Regions from separate parts of the Homo sapiens genome. Here regions 1 and 2 are each linked to region 3. Evidence: promoter capture Hi-C in 16 types of primary human blood cells and fetal thymus (Javierre and others, 2016). All regions are on one chromosome and are shown on one strand. Each heading gives the region's core, a stretch centred on a gene start or on the middle of the fragment in contact. The rest is flanking DNA. Distances are from core to core; before and after follow the strand shown.

Evidence for each region. Contacts are between HindIII fragments. The CHiCAGO score rates a contact against its expected background, and 5 or more counts as called.
Region 1: a fragment that was not itself captured here is called in contact with the fragment with the promoter of NT5M in region 3 in 3 of 17 cell types (non-activated CD4 T cells, activated CD4 T cells and naive CD4 T cells); the score reaches 7.7 in non-activated CD4 T cells.
Region 2: a fragment that was not itself captured here is called in contact with the fragment with the promoter of NT5M in region 3 in 1 of 17 cell types (M1 macrophages); the score reaches 6.3 in M1 macrophages.

What each region holds. Positions count from the first base shown.
Region 1 is chr17:17,016,658-17,021,301 of GRCh38, forward strand. No RefSeq gene overlaps it. Among named protein-coding and RNA genes, the nearest start is that of MPRIP, 23 kb to the right of the region's middle. RefSeq lists an enhancer at 3,115-4,062. The HindIII fragment of the contact is 4,056 bases long and covers 1,327-4,644 here.
Region 2 is chr17:17,661,939-17,666,370 of GRCh38, forward strand. No RefSeq gene overlaps it. Among named protein-coding and RNA genes, the nearest start is that of SMCR2, 14 kb to the right of the region's middle. RefSeq lists enhancers at 1,165-1,254, 1,745-1,884. The HindIII fragment of the contact is 158 bases long and covers 2,286-2,443 here.
Region 3 is chr17:17,300,699-17,305,715 of GRCh38, forward strand. NT5M (5',3'-nucleotidase, mitochondrial) reads left to right here and starts at 2,675. Exons shown (of 5, transcript NM_020201.4): 1 at 2,675-3,119. The coding sequence starts at 2,853. RefSeq lists an enhancer at 56-631 and silencers at 2,605-2,774, 2,825-2,924, 3,055-3,244. The HindIII fragment of the contact is 19,177 bases long and covers 1-5,017 here.

The DNA.
Region 1 (4,644 bases), core at 2,105-4,604, 280 kb before region 3:
GAATTCATTCATCCAAGGGCTTCCCGTTCGGCTACCTAAAACTCATATCCAAACCAGTCCTTTCCAGGATGTGGTTTTTTACTTCTTCTTTTGGTTTTGTGAGCTAACCTATAACCTCCCAGCACATTCCTTGCTTGCTTTGCCTTGGCTAGACTTAGCCAGAGCTGATTTCAATGGTGTGAGGAGTCTTGATGTATCCACTCTCCCTTACCAGGTTGAGTCTGAGGGTCTGAGTTGATGTCGTCCCCATCTTCCAGCTGAGATTCCCTGCTTTTCTCTGTGGGTCCCTCAACTTCCAGGTCCAGGCAACTAGTGACCCTTCCTAGCCAGCTCGCTCAGGGGCGTTTGCAGCCTCCTCCGCCCTGTCCTCATGTCTAGGCCAGAGGTCCTGTTTTCTTCACTTGGAAGGTGATGTCGCTGATTGATTTAAGAGCTTGTTTGGGCTCTCAGCTCTGGGAGTGTAGGTAGTGGGTCTCCCTTGATAATTGTGTCCCAGAGCTTCAAAGGCCAGGGCCAGCAGGGCCCTTGGGGATTTTGGGGACCAATCACCACAGTGGACAGAGGAGATGCGGTGCAGAGGGGGAGCTGTCCCAGGTCACACACTGTGTTGGGGGACACATGTGGGTCCAGGAGACCCTTTCTGAATCACTGTTGAGGGTTCGTTCTTTCTCTTGGCAAGCACTCCTCAATGGCTGGATTCCCCAGCTTACAGGCAGGGCTGTGCCATAGTGAGCACCAACTCCACATGCAAAGGCAACCATAGCTGCCCTGTAGGCCAAGGACAGAGGAGCCTGTTTGGGGAAGTGGGGAGGTGGCTTGGAGAAGATGGCCTGGAAAGACTAGCTTGGGTTGGGGCATGGCAAGTGCAAAGGCCCTGAGGCAGGTGAGAATGAGCATTTTGAGCATGGAGGCCACAGGGAGAGGGTCCCACGGGCAGGGGTGTCGATCAGAGAGACCATCCTCCAACCAAGACCATGTAACCAAGACCTGGCAGAAATGGAAACAATGGGCAAAGAGCCTTCTAGGCAGGGGAAGTGGCCCAGGGAAGGCCGTGCAGTTGGAAGGAGCCGAAGCGCTGCAATAAAGTGTGGCTCCAGACTGGCTGGGACAGAGAGAGTGAGCCAAAGCAGTCAGGCAGGATGGCTTGGACACAGGTGGGATCCTGCTCGTTGGTCTGACAGGCTTTTATTCTGAGTGTACCTGGGAACACTGTGGTGGCCATGGTGTTTCTAGCAGGCAGGCCGTGGCACTGGGTGAGAGATGTGACTATGTGGGAGTGAGCACTCCTTCCATGGCCATGAAAAGGGCCTTAGAGATTGTGGCAGAAGCTTTCCCAGTACCCACACCCCAGGCCCGGCCACAAGGATATGGGCCGTGCTTCTGGCTGCCTGGGGCTTTCTCTGCGACACATTGCACCCCACGGGGAACCGCAGAACCAGCTCCATCACCATCAACCCAGAACTGCTGGCAGCCAATGCCCGTGAGAGTTGGGTTCAACACCCCAGCTGGCTGGCCGGGCTGGGGAGCCTCTGAGGTATGTTCTGCTCCCCCAGGGAGGGAGCTCCATGTGCCCACAGCGCTCCCTGTCACCCCCTCCACCCCGCCAGGAAGGGATCCTCCCCCAGGGATGGAGGTTCAGGTGCCCAGAGTGCTCCCTGGCACAGCCTGCCTCGGCTCTTTCTCTTGCCTGCCTCACTTCCTGCCTCATTTCCTGACTCAGCAACTGGTGTTTTCTGGACCCCTCCACATACGCTCAGATCCTCCTCTCAGGTCGGGGGAGCCCACCATAGCCAGGGCTCTTCCCAGAGACATACATGTATCCCCACTCTCAGGCCCTAGCCACTCGATGTCACCTGATGTTCCTGAACTATGACTCCCACAAAAGGTTGGGATCCATCCTTCCTGCTCACCGCTGAACCCCCAACTCCAGGCAGAGCCCCTGTGCATCGCAGACTCCTGGTAGGTGTTGTTGGAGGATGGTGAGGTGGGCCCTGAAGGCCAGGGAGGCTGAGGAAGAGTCCCCAGGCCAGGGAGAGAGAGGCTCAGCCAGACCTCCTGGGCCAGGAGCCCTCAGACCTCCCGCAGGTGAGGGACACGCTGTTCTGAACAGAGGCTGAGTGAGTTCTGTCCACAGCAATCCTGTCGAACCTGTCTGGCCGGGTACAGAGCTTCAGGGCCCATATCCACGCTCAGGGGCAGGTGTCCTCAGGCGAGGACCATCAGGCAGCTTTCCCCCTCCAGGGCCCCTCCCTAGACAGGGCTCACACCAGACTTGCCCAGGGCCACAGCCCAGGACAGAGTGTTTGGCCTGTCTAAGGCCCAATATAGATTCCAGAATTCATTCATGGTTGCTGAACATTCCAGTTCAGCTGGGGACATGGGACGGGCAGGAGGGGTCTGCTGCCTAATCTGATGGATCTTCCATCCTGGTGGGGCAGGGGGCAGATGAGAACCAAGTGGGCACACAGGGAGATGGGAACTCAAGGCAGGGGGATGGTGGCAGCTCCATGGGCAGCTCTGAGGGCCAAGGACAGAGGAGGTTGTTTTGGGGGAGTGGGGAAGGTGGCTTGGAGGGGGCGGACTACAAAGACTAGCTTGGGTTGGGGCATGGTGAGTGCAAAGGTCCCGAGGCAGGAAAGAATGAGGATTTTGAGGTCCTGAACAGAGGCTGGCAGTGGGGAGAAAGGACATGGCAGCGGGGGTGGGGAGCAGGCCTCAGGGCCAGGAAGCCATGGGGGCAACCAAGTGTGGTTCTGGGGGCATGGAGGAGCCAAGAGGAGAGGGTGAGGTGGAAGGTGGCCAGACTCGATTTGTGTTTTTAGCAGACTCTGCAGTCAGGACTTGGGATCTGGACCACAGGAAGGGAGAGCGACAGCTGGGATGTGACCATTTTCACTGCAGGGCACCTGGGAAGGGGAGAGGGCGTGAAGTGGCCCAGACGTGGCTTTCCATTGGTGACCTCGTGCCCCACTCTCCACTGCCCCTTTTCACTTAACACTTCAGGAAACAGGTTCAGAGAAGGGAAGGGAATGGCCCAAGGTCCCTTGGCCCAGAATTGTACCTAGACAGGTGCACCTGGTCCCAGACTGCTCTCTTCTCACCACCCCACACTGCCCCCAATCTGTCAGGTAAGAAACTTTGGGTGGGAAGGGAGAAGGAAATTGAACCAGGGAGGTGATTACTGCCTCTCACACACAACTGGGCAGCAGGCGAAAGGCCAGGCGGCCCAGCCCCCTATCCAGGGTCCCCAGAGCTTGTTATTGGTATGTTGTGCTCACCTCCCTGTCCAGGAGTGAGAATTGGCTGTGTCTGACTCCTTGGGAAGGCTGTGTCCCCAGCCTGGGCCCTGTGGGTACTTAGTCATCTCGCACCCCAGAGTCACTCTGACCCCCGATGTGAACTGACCACTGAGCTTCAACAAATTAAGGGCCAAGTGCAGGAACAAAGTTGGATCCCACCCTCTTCTGCTTCCTCAAGCCACGGCCCGGAGTGATGAGCCACCTCCGCTCTGACCTCACCTCCTCCCAGCTCCCTGACTCCTTCGGCGGGGGGCCTGGCCAGCTTGTTCGGCCACTCTGGGCTCCAGGCTCTTCAACTGGAAAGAGATGCTTGTGGAGTTCCTCATGGCAAGTCTGGGCAAGCCAGCCTGACGGCCAGCCTGCGACTCCTTGTCCAGAACTCTGTCAACTCCACCAGTGCCTGTCACGGAAACCGCATGGCCACCAGCTTCAGGTGACAGGCCTCTTGCCTGGGTGATGAGCTTCCCAGGCCCATGCTATGGTGTGCGCTTTTTCACAGGAAGAGGATCGAGAGCAAGGGTCCCATTCTGGTGGTCCTCAGCCCGCATCTGGCCCACAGATGTTTAATTGGGCTGACATAATATATAGTTTTACCTTTTTTTTTTTTTTTTTTTTGAGACGGAGTCTCACTCTGTTGCCCAGGCTGGAGTGCAGTGGCGCCATCTCAGCTCACTACAAGCTCCGCCTCCCAGGTTCACGCCATTCTCCTGCCTCAGCCTCCCGAGTAGCTGGGACTACAGGCACCCGCCACCACACCCGGCTAATTTTTTTGTATTGTTAGTAGAGACAGGGTCTCACCATGTTAACCAGGATGGTCTCGATCTGCTGACCTCGTAATACGCCTGCCTTGGCCTCCCAAAGTGCTGGGATTACAGGCGTGAGCCACCGTGCCCGGTCTAGTTTTACATTTTTAATGCATTGCCAACATTTGAACATGAGTAGCTTTCACACAGAAAGATGGCTCTTTGGCTCCTCTGAAACACTGGACGACCGGGTGCCCTGCAGGGCCACAGTGAGCCAGAGGTGGGGGACATGGGCTCCAGACAAATCCCATGCCGAGCAGACCATGCCAGCCATCAACACCGCAGGCCTGGCCCTTGGGCATTGGAGTAATGGGTCTAGAATTTCCTTCACATTGTCAAAGGAGCCTGTGACCCAGAAATGGTAAGTAAGGTCCGATTCTCACCAACAAAGCAGGCATGACCTCAGACAAGTCCCTACCCTGCTCTGGGCCTCAGTTTCTCCTTTAGTGAGGAGGTGGGTGAGGGTCCTGTCCTCCTCCGGGAACTGGCGATTTGGGAAGGCAGAGACATTCCCAGAATCCGCCGGAGTCCTGAAAACACCC
Region 2 (4,432 bases), core at 1,115-3,614, 360 kb after region 3:
ATTTTTAGCATACAATTCTATGGATTTTGACAAATGTGTCAAATCACATAACTGCCTCAAGCCCCCTTGTGGTCAGGTCAGCCTTTTCCCCATCCCCAGTTCCTGGCAACCGCTGATTAGTTTTCTGTCCCTATCATTTTGTCACTCCCGGAATGTCACATAATAGAATCCTGCAGCCTACAGCCTTTCAAGGCTGGCTACTTTTGCTCAGCATAATCCACTTAAGATTCACTGATATTTTTGTACGTACCAGTAGCTTGTTCCTTTTTTTTGAGACGGAGTTTCACTCTTGTGGCCCAGGCTGGAGTGCAATGGCACGATCTCAGCTCACTGCAACCTCCGCTTCCTGCGTTTAAGCGATTCTCCTGCCTCAACCTCCCAAGCAGCTGGGATTACAGGCATGCACCACCAAGCCTGGCTAATTTTGTATTTTTAGTAGAGACAGGGTTTCTCCATGTTGGTCAGGCTGGTCTCAAACTCCTGATCTCAGTGATCTGCCCGCCTTGGCCTCCCAAAGTGCTGGGATTACAGGCATGAGCCACCGCGCCTGGCCATTTGTTCCTTTTTATTGACAAATACTATTTCCTTGTCTGGACATACCGCATGTTGCCTCTCCATTCATCAGTGGATGAACAATGGGCTGTTTTCACCAGTGCACTTGCCTTGGAATCCACAAACTGCAAATGGCAGTGGCCTTGCCCATCCCACCCACACCGCTGCAGTGCGCGGCCTGCTCGTTGGGCCACAGATACATGAACCTCCACCTGCCTCAGGGCCTCTGCACTTACTGTTGCGATGCTTGCGATGCTCTTCCCATGACTCTGGCCTCCTTCCTCAGAACCTCTGCTCATAAGTCACCTCTCTGACCACCCTGTCCTCAGTTTCCACCCCATCACTCTCTGTGCCCTCCTCCTGCTGTTCCTTCTCCCAGCACCCACTGGAGTCTCTGGTTTTGTTTGCTTGTTTGTGTATTGTCCATCTCCCACCAGACTGGAGACTGGAGACCCTCAGCGGAGGAAGTCTCTGTTCATGGCTGTATCCCCAGGGCCTGACACAGAGTGGACTCTAAATATGAGTTGAGTGAGCAGCTGCTGGTACAGGATCACAGGAGGATTAAATGAAATAGCGAGTGTGAGTGCCCTTTGCAACCTGCTGTGCTTATTGAGGGGGAAACAGGCTGAGAAAGGTGCAGTGACCAACCCAGGGCCACCAGGTCAGAGCGATAGACACCCAGGCCTACACCCCTCCCTGGGCCACCCTCCTGTCCACCCTGCCTCAGGGCCAGCGTTCCTAAGGCACATTACACACACACACAGCCCACAGACACCCAGACCGCACACACAGCTCAACACCACACACAGACAAACGCCCTCAATGCAGACATGCCCAGCCTTGCACACACAGGAAGTCCACACACAAACACCAGCACACTGCCTTGAACACGCAGGAATAGCATTCACACGCCCATCCCCCTACACAAACACACAGGCCACACCCACACGCCAAAACACACCCCCAGCGTCAGACCTTGATGACTGACAGCCCAGGACTCCAGTGGGCTTGCGTCGCCATAACAACAGACGGCTCCGAGTCTTGGGCTGTGAGTGTGGTCGGGCTGTGAGTCACAGCTGCAGCAGACGCTCCGCAGAGCAGGAGCAGCCTGGCCCAGTGCGGACTCCCCAGTGCCAACCTCTTATGGACGCAGAGTGGACCCTCTCAGATGGGTGTGCAGTGTCCATTAGCATTACCCACAGGAGGGATGTGGCCCTCAGGTGTCCCCTGTGTGCCACACACTGGCGTGCGCCCAGAGCTTCACACACATTTTCTTGCTTAATCCTCGTGGTGTCCTCACCAAATCAGTGTGGCCAGGGAGACCATTTTACAGATGTTGAAACTGAGGTTCAGGTAGGGGAAGTCCCTTGCCTCACTCAGGTCACACAGTGAGTCACCACCAGGCCTGAAATTTGAATTCAGGTCTACTGAACCATGAAGGGTCCTCTTTCCACTGCCCTGAATCCAATCCAGGGGAGCTCCCAGCTGTGCACACCATTTCCAGACAAGAGCAATAGATTATCAGCTCTCACTTGCACCAGAGTTGGTTCTGCCCTTGTAGAGCTCCCTTGGTAGGTAGTGAGATCCCCATCATGAGCAGCATCCAAGCAGAGACTGTCATAGCTGCTATGGAGAAGCATCAAGTATCAGGGGACAAGGGGTTGGACCAGACGGCCTGGCTTTGAGTTGTAAATGACAAAAAAAATTATTGGCAAACAAAACAGGAATATAAAAGCTTCAGGAACAGCTGGATCCAGCTGTCAGATGTCATCAGGAATCTTCTTCTGGATTTCCCCTTCCTTGGGGTTCACTTTCTTCTCAGAATAACCTTCCCTAGCCTAGGGTAGACCTCACAGCTGCAGGCTTACATCGGTCGTGGCCCCCAAAAGCAAGCTTAATAGATGTTTGTCAGATGAATGCTAGAAGCATGATAAGGTTGCGGGTCTCAGTCTAAGTAAATCCCAACTTGACCTCTGGGAGTCACTCTGAGGAGGCGCAGTGCTCATTCCTGTGTGCCAAATCCCATCATCTCTCAAACGTCGTATGATTGAGTTAGATTGTACTATGCACTTCACAGACATTAACTCATGGAAATCCCAGGCAGCCCTATGCAGTGGTCACAATCTCCATCTCATGGACGGGGACACAGGGTCCCAAAGAGGCAAAGTGTGGTACCTGAGGTAGGGCTAGAGCCACACAGTGCCTTACCAGGCTGAGATCAGGAGGCCGTACCTCTGAACGAGGGCAGGACTGTTCTTCACAGGCAGCTTTCCTCCAAGGAGGCAGAGGACGGCACTGGCACGTTCACTCAGCAGCCAACATTGGCAAGCACCCACTCTACCCCGTGGCCCGGGGTGCCACTGCCCATGGAGCTTGGAGGTGCCAACTGCTGCCAGTGACCTTGGGTAAGTCATTTTGTGCTTGATCCTTGCATCCCCATCTGTAAATGGGCAGGTCACCCCACTCAGAGGGGCAGAACTCATGTCAGTGGTTGAACGCTTCTGGCAGTACAGCCCAATAGAACTTCCTATACCAGGTCCCACAGGGTGGCCACACACCGCTCCTGAACACCAGAAAGTGACTAGTATAATAATAACAATTTTAAAGGCCGGGCGCGGTGGCTCATGCCTGTAATCCCAGCACTTTGGGAGGCCAAGGTAGGCGGATCACAAGGTCAGGAGTTCAAGACCAGCCTGGCCAACAGAGTGAAACCCTGTCTCTACCAAAAATACAAAAATTACCCGGGTGTGGTGGCATGTGCCTATAGTTCCAGCTACTAGGGAGGCTGAAGCGGAAGAATCGCTTGAACCCGGGAGGTGGAGGTTGCAGTGAGCTGAGACCGCACCATTTGTACTCCAGCTTGGGTGATAGAGTGAGACTCTAAAAGAAACACACACACACACACACACAATTTTAAGTTTTATTTCTTTTAAATTGATTGAAATGTACCTAGCTACACGTGGCTAATGACAACCATATTGAGCAGCAAAGCTCCAGGGTTCTAGACAAACAGCAGATATTAATTTTGGTTTTGTTCTGTTTTACTAACCCCACCCCATGCTCCAGTGCAGGCAGCCTGGTCCCTAGCTTGTCTCAGAGAGCTTTGCTGGCCTCCTTTGCCAGACCCGGTGGCCAGACTCATCATGGCCTTGGGACCTTTGTGTGGCTCTGGAGAAGAAAGAAGCTCCCAATAATGGCTGAGATTCAGTTGCCCACCAGCCAGCAGGATAGGGGCTTAGAACAGGATGTAAGATGATTTAAAGAAAAAAAGGGGCTGGGCGTGGTGGCTCATGCCTGTAATCCCAGAATTTTGGGAGGCCGAGGAGGGTGGATCACTTGAGGTCAGGAGTTCGAAACCAGCTTGGCCAACATGCTGAAACCCCATCTCTACTAAAAATACAAAATAATTAGCCGGGCGTGGCAGCCGGCGCCTGTAATCCTAGCTACTTGGGAGGCTGAGGCAGGGGAATCGCTTGAACCCGGGAAGTGGAGGTTGTAGTGAGCCGAGATCACACCACTGAACTCCAGCCTGGGTGACAGAGTGAGATCCATCTCAAAAAAAAAAAAAAAGAAAAAGAAAAAAGGAAGCTGGCTGTTTCTGGCACACCTGGGTTTTCCACTGGGTCTATACCAGGTGCACAAGTGCCTACTCCCCACCTCTATACCCGCACAACCCACCACGTGGACATGCACCAAACACACCCCCCAGCTGTGTGTGGACACAAGCAGCCAACACATGCTCTGTGGCTTACTCCTCCCATGCTCCTGGGCCTGGGCTGAGGGTCCAGCAGTTCACAGAACATCCACGTGGTCTGGGCTTCCAGAGCCTGTCCATCCTCCATCCCCTCTACCTGCCCAGGATCCCCGGGCCCCTGCTGGC
Region 3 (5,017 bases), core at 1,425-3,924:
TGATCCGCCCGCCTCGGCCTCCCAAATCCTGGGATTACAGGCGTGAGCCACCGTGCGCGGCCTGATGGATGGAGTTTTTAAAAAACTGCAACGGCAACCCAATATAGAAGGCACAGCAGGAGCCCCGCCCCTTCTGAGTTGGCGGGGCGGGAGTTCCCCAGATGCCGCTGCAGTTGCCCTGCTGCGGCTCTGGCCCAGCATCTCTGTGCTCTTGGGAACCTGTGAAGGCTCCACTGCCCCTCGCAGGCTCGGAAGTGCCTGCTCCTGCTGCCTGGCTTCTCCCTGCTGTTGGTGCCTGCTTCAATCTCGGAGCAAAGTCGGGCCGAGCTAGGGCGCCGTCACAGCCCAGCCGGGAGTGCACACGCTCAGGGCAGCACTGACACGCCAGCCCCCTGCCTCCTTGGCCCCCTCCGGACTTGGGTGCCAACAAGCATCGGAGAACGGCCGAGGGGGGCATGAGGACAGCCTGGTGTTGGCCTGCAGGTACCCCTTGGCATGAACAGCCTGGGCGCCATGAACAGCAGCAGGAATGCAGACAGCTCCTCGGTGGAAGGGGGCGGGTCCCTGGTGAAGCCCCACCTTCAATCCTGGAAGGGCCTGAAGCCTGGGGGCCAGGTCACCAGTCCCAGTACCAGAGCGGGGAACTTGTGGTGCTTTTCCCCAGGCCTGCTCATGGCCACCTATGGCCGCCCATGGACCAATCAGCACTCACTTCTTCCCCTCTGAGGTCCATAAAAAACCCTGGACTCAGCCAGACTCAAAGAGAGGACGGGTAGATGGGGAGAAAACCAGCTGCAGAGAGGAACTACCCTTTCTGCTGAGAGCTGGACACTTGTTGGGATGAACTGCCTACCAGAGAGGAGCTACCCTCTCTGCTGAAAGCTGAACACTTGTGGGGAAACCCTGGCTATGGAGAGGAGCTGCCCACTGCAGGTCTCTTCTGAAGTATTCTGTTGCTCAATAAAGCTCCTCTTCGTCTTGCTCACTCTCCACTTGTCTGCCTACCCCATTCTTCCTGGATGCAGGACAAGAACTCGGGACCTGCCAAATGGTGGGGCTAAAAGAGCTGTAACACAGGCTGGGTGCAGTGGCTCACGCCTTTAATCCCAGCACTTTGGGAGGCCGAGGGGGGTGGGGCGGATCACCTGAGGTCAGGAGTTTGAGGCCAGCCTGGCCAACATGGTGAAACCCTGTCTCTACTAAAAATACAAAAATCGGCCGGGTGCGGTGGCTCACACCTGTAACCCCGGCACTTTGGGAGGCCGAGGCGGGCAGATCACAAGGTCAGGAGTTGGAGATCAGCCTGGCTAACATAGTGAAACCCTGTCTCTACTAAAAATGCAAAAAAGCTGGGTGTGGTGGTGGGCGCCTGTAATCCCAGCCACTTGGGAGGCTGAGGCAGGGGAATCGCTTGAACCTGGGAGGTGGAGGTTGCAGTGAGCCGAGATCCTGCCACTGCACTCCAGCCTGGGCAACAAGAGCAAGACTCCCTATCAAGAAAAAAAAAAAAAAAAGGGAGAGAATGTGGTACATATATACCATAGAATACTTCACAGTCATAAAAAAAGAATAAGATCATGTCTTTTGCAGCCATATGGATGGAGCTGGAGACAATTATCCTAAGCAAACACAGGAACAGAAAATTAAATACCTCATGCTCTCACTTAAAAGCGGGAACTAAACATTAAGTAAACATGGACGTAATGATGGGGACAACAGACACGGTGACCTACTTGAGGGTGGAGAGTGGGAGGAGGGTGAGGATGGAAAAACTACCTATCAGGAACTACGCTTATTACCTGGGTAATAATAATCTGTACACTAAACCCCCAAGACAGTCAATTTATATAACAAATCTGCACATGTATCCCTGTACTTAAAAGTTGAAAAGAGGCCGGGCGCGGTGGCTCACGCCTGTAATCCCAGCACTTTGGGAGGCTGAGGTGGGAGGATCGTTTGAGCCCAACATAGGAAGACTCCTGTCTCAAAAAAAAAAAAAAAAAAAAAAAAATTACCAGGGTGTGGTGGCAGGCCCCTGTGGTCCCAGCTACTCAGGAGGCAGAAGCAGGACGATCCCTTGGGCCCAGAAACTCAAGGCTGCAGGGAACCGAGATCATGCCACTGCTTCCACCCTGGGTAACAGAGCAAGACCCCGTCTCCAAAAAAAAAAAAAAAAAAAAGCAATACAGGGGTACTTAATATTTATTCATATATTTACCTGAGAATCATCAGTTTTACTAAGGCTGTATGATGTTAGCAGATATTGGTTCTATCAGTCTCTCCGCAGACATTTGCTGTAAATAAAGCAGAGAGGCTTTCAGAGTGCACCCTGTTTTTGTTCCTCCATCCTGTTGTCTGGATCCCCTTCTAAAACGTAAGTTCCAGGATGGCAGGAACTTTGTCTATTTGGTTCACACTCGACACAGTTAGTGCTCAAAAATGTCTAACGACACAGGCCTGCTTCTCGGTTTGCACTGCTCCTCCATGGTAGTCTGTGCAGTGGGAGAAGGCAGCCCGGGCCCAGGGTCCACGGAGAAGACGCAAATCGACAGCGCGGGAGCGCGGACCTTCTGGAGGCGCGCGGCGCTTACCGCTGTCCGTCCTCGAAGCCCCGCCCCGGGGCTCCGCCTCCGCCGGCGCGTGTTCCTTTAGGGACCGCGCGCGCCGCGGCCTCGCTCTGGGGCCGGTACTTGCGCGCCCGCACCCCGCGCTCCCCGCCCCGCTCCCCGTCCCGCGCTCCACGCGCGCCCCAGCGTTGGGGGCTTCTCCTCCGCGGCGGGAATGTCTGGCCGGCTCCGGCAGCACGGCGCGGCCCAGGTCCCCGCGCCCACGACGGGCCAGCGCGCTGGGCCATGATCCGGCTGGGCGGCTGGTGTGCGCGGCGGCTCTGCAGCGCGGCGGTTCCCGCGGGGCGGCGCGGGGCGGCGGGCGGGCTGGGCCTGGCGGGAGGCCGCGCCCTACGGGTGCTGGTGGACATGGACGGCGTGCTGGCTGACTTCGAGGGCGGATTCCTCAGGAAGTTCCGCGCGCGCTTTCCCGACCAGCCCTTCATCGCGCTGGAGGACCGGCGCGGCTTCTGGGTGTCGGAGCAGTACGGCCGCCTGCGGCCAGGGCTGAGCGTGAGCGTCCCCGCCCCGCCCCGCGCCGGGCCTCCTTCTCGCCCCGAGCCCCAGACACCGCCCCTGCGCCGGTGACCTTGGACGGTCAGCGCCCCAGCCTCGGGGTGGCCCTCTGATAGAATAGGGTCTGGGGGGGACTAGGGGCCACAGCGCACCGGGAAGATGCGGCCCCGCGCTCAGGATCTGTTGGCTGCCATCCAAGGTTTCTGAAAATGCGGGAGAGTACAAAGTGTTAATATACCTAACTCTGCATTTAAAGCTGACTTCAAAATTTGTGGCATATTTGGCCTCAAGTCGTTTGTTAAATTTTTAGAAAAATAAACGTTATAAGTTGTCCTCTTTCACCCCGACCGCAGTCACATTCCCACTTCTTTGTCCCCAGGACTTTGATGGGTGTCTTTACCCATCTTTTTTACTGTTGTCCATGAAAGCATAGCTTCCAGGGGTATTTGAGGCCCAGAGAGGTTGTGTGACTTTCTGGGGGTCACACAGTGAGTCAGTGGTCCAGGTGAGGTGGGATCCACCTCATGTCTTATCCCCTTGCAGAGCTGGCCTTGCTGAACACCTGAGCTCAACCCCTACCATCCGACTCCCGAGGTGTTCTGTCCAGGATGGATAGAGGGGAAAGATCCAAGGAGGGACGTTTACACACAGATCTTGGTTGGTAAATTTGAAGTATTTTGCAAAAGGAACAGGGGATTTTGGTATGCACAAAATTAAAGAGGCTGAGTGTTTTTTGGCATCCCTTGATTGGCCACCTAGGGTTGCTGCTGGAGGGTTTGATAAAGAGGAGAAGGAAGTTACAAGAGCCCGTTTTTTAGCCACAAGTTCACTGCATCCTCTCTTTTGTTGGGTAGATATTATTATCTCTGTTTTCCAGATGAGGAAACTTGCCCCAAGTCACATGCTGCTCAGGGGCTCAGTCAGGACTCAAACCCAAGTCTGTCTGCCTCCCAAGCACAGTTAGTGCTCCCCACTCCACAGTCCTGTTCTCTGTACTACTGTCTCTAACAAGTGACATTTCTTCTGACATCAGAAAGATGCCTCATCAGTAATGTGGTTTGTTGAGGGACAGGTGTTAAAAAAGGAAACCAAGTACCGTTTGTCTCCATCAACACCAGGCACTTCAGAAGGTGACTTTCACAGAGCCCAGTGTGCTGAGCTCTTCTACAGCGGATGCCTAATGATAAACTTTAAACTGGAGAAAATGCCCTGGTACTTTCTGCAGCCTCAGGAATAGGCTCCAGTGTGTGGCGAGTGTTCATTTATAGGCAGCGCTCGGCATGGGGAGTCTGGACACCATATATCCGCCCGGGAGTGTATTAACGTGGAAACCAAGCCCACCCCCAACTCCGAAAAGTGCAGCAGCTTTTCCAGTTCTTTGTGCAAATATGTAGGCTCTGTACGTGTGGGGTTACTGGTTTCCAAGCACAAGGCAAAGGCACGGGGCAGTAAGGAGGGTGCCTTGGGAGTAATCTGCTGGCTTCCACTACTTCCCTTCCTGAGGCACGGCTTGCTGCTGTGGACATCCCTGGGCCTACCCCAAGCTGGCCCAGTATCTGTGGTTAAAACAACCGCCCCCCCCCCCCCGCCCCCACACACGTGGCTCCTTATGTGTATGTAGGCATTTCTACTTTTCAAAATTCTGCTCTGTCTGTATTCCCTTTGGTCTTCACAGTACCCTATGTGGGATGTGAGGATCAAATGTGTTTCAGTAATAAGCACGCATTTGCCTAGTCCCTGTGGTTCCTGAGAGTGTTGCTGGTATGCTGTCAGGGCATCCTCCGGCCGTCCATGTGACAGGGTGGCTGTCTTTCTGTAGTGTGCAGAACAGCTGGTAGAGGCACTTCCTGTACTGCACACGTGGGATTTAGGCTCCTGCTCATAGGCTGAGATGT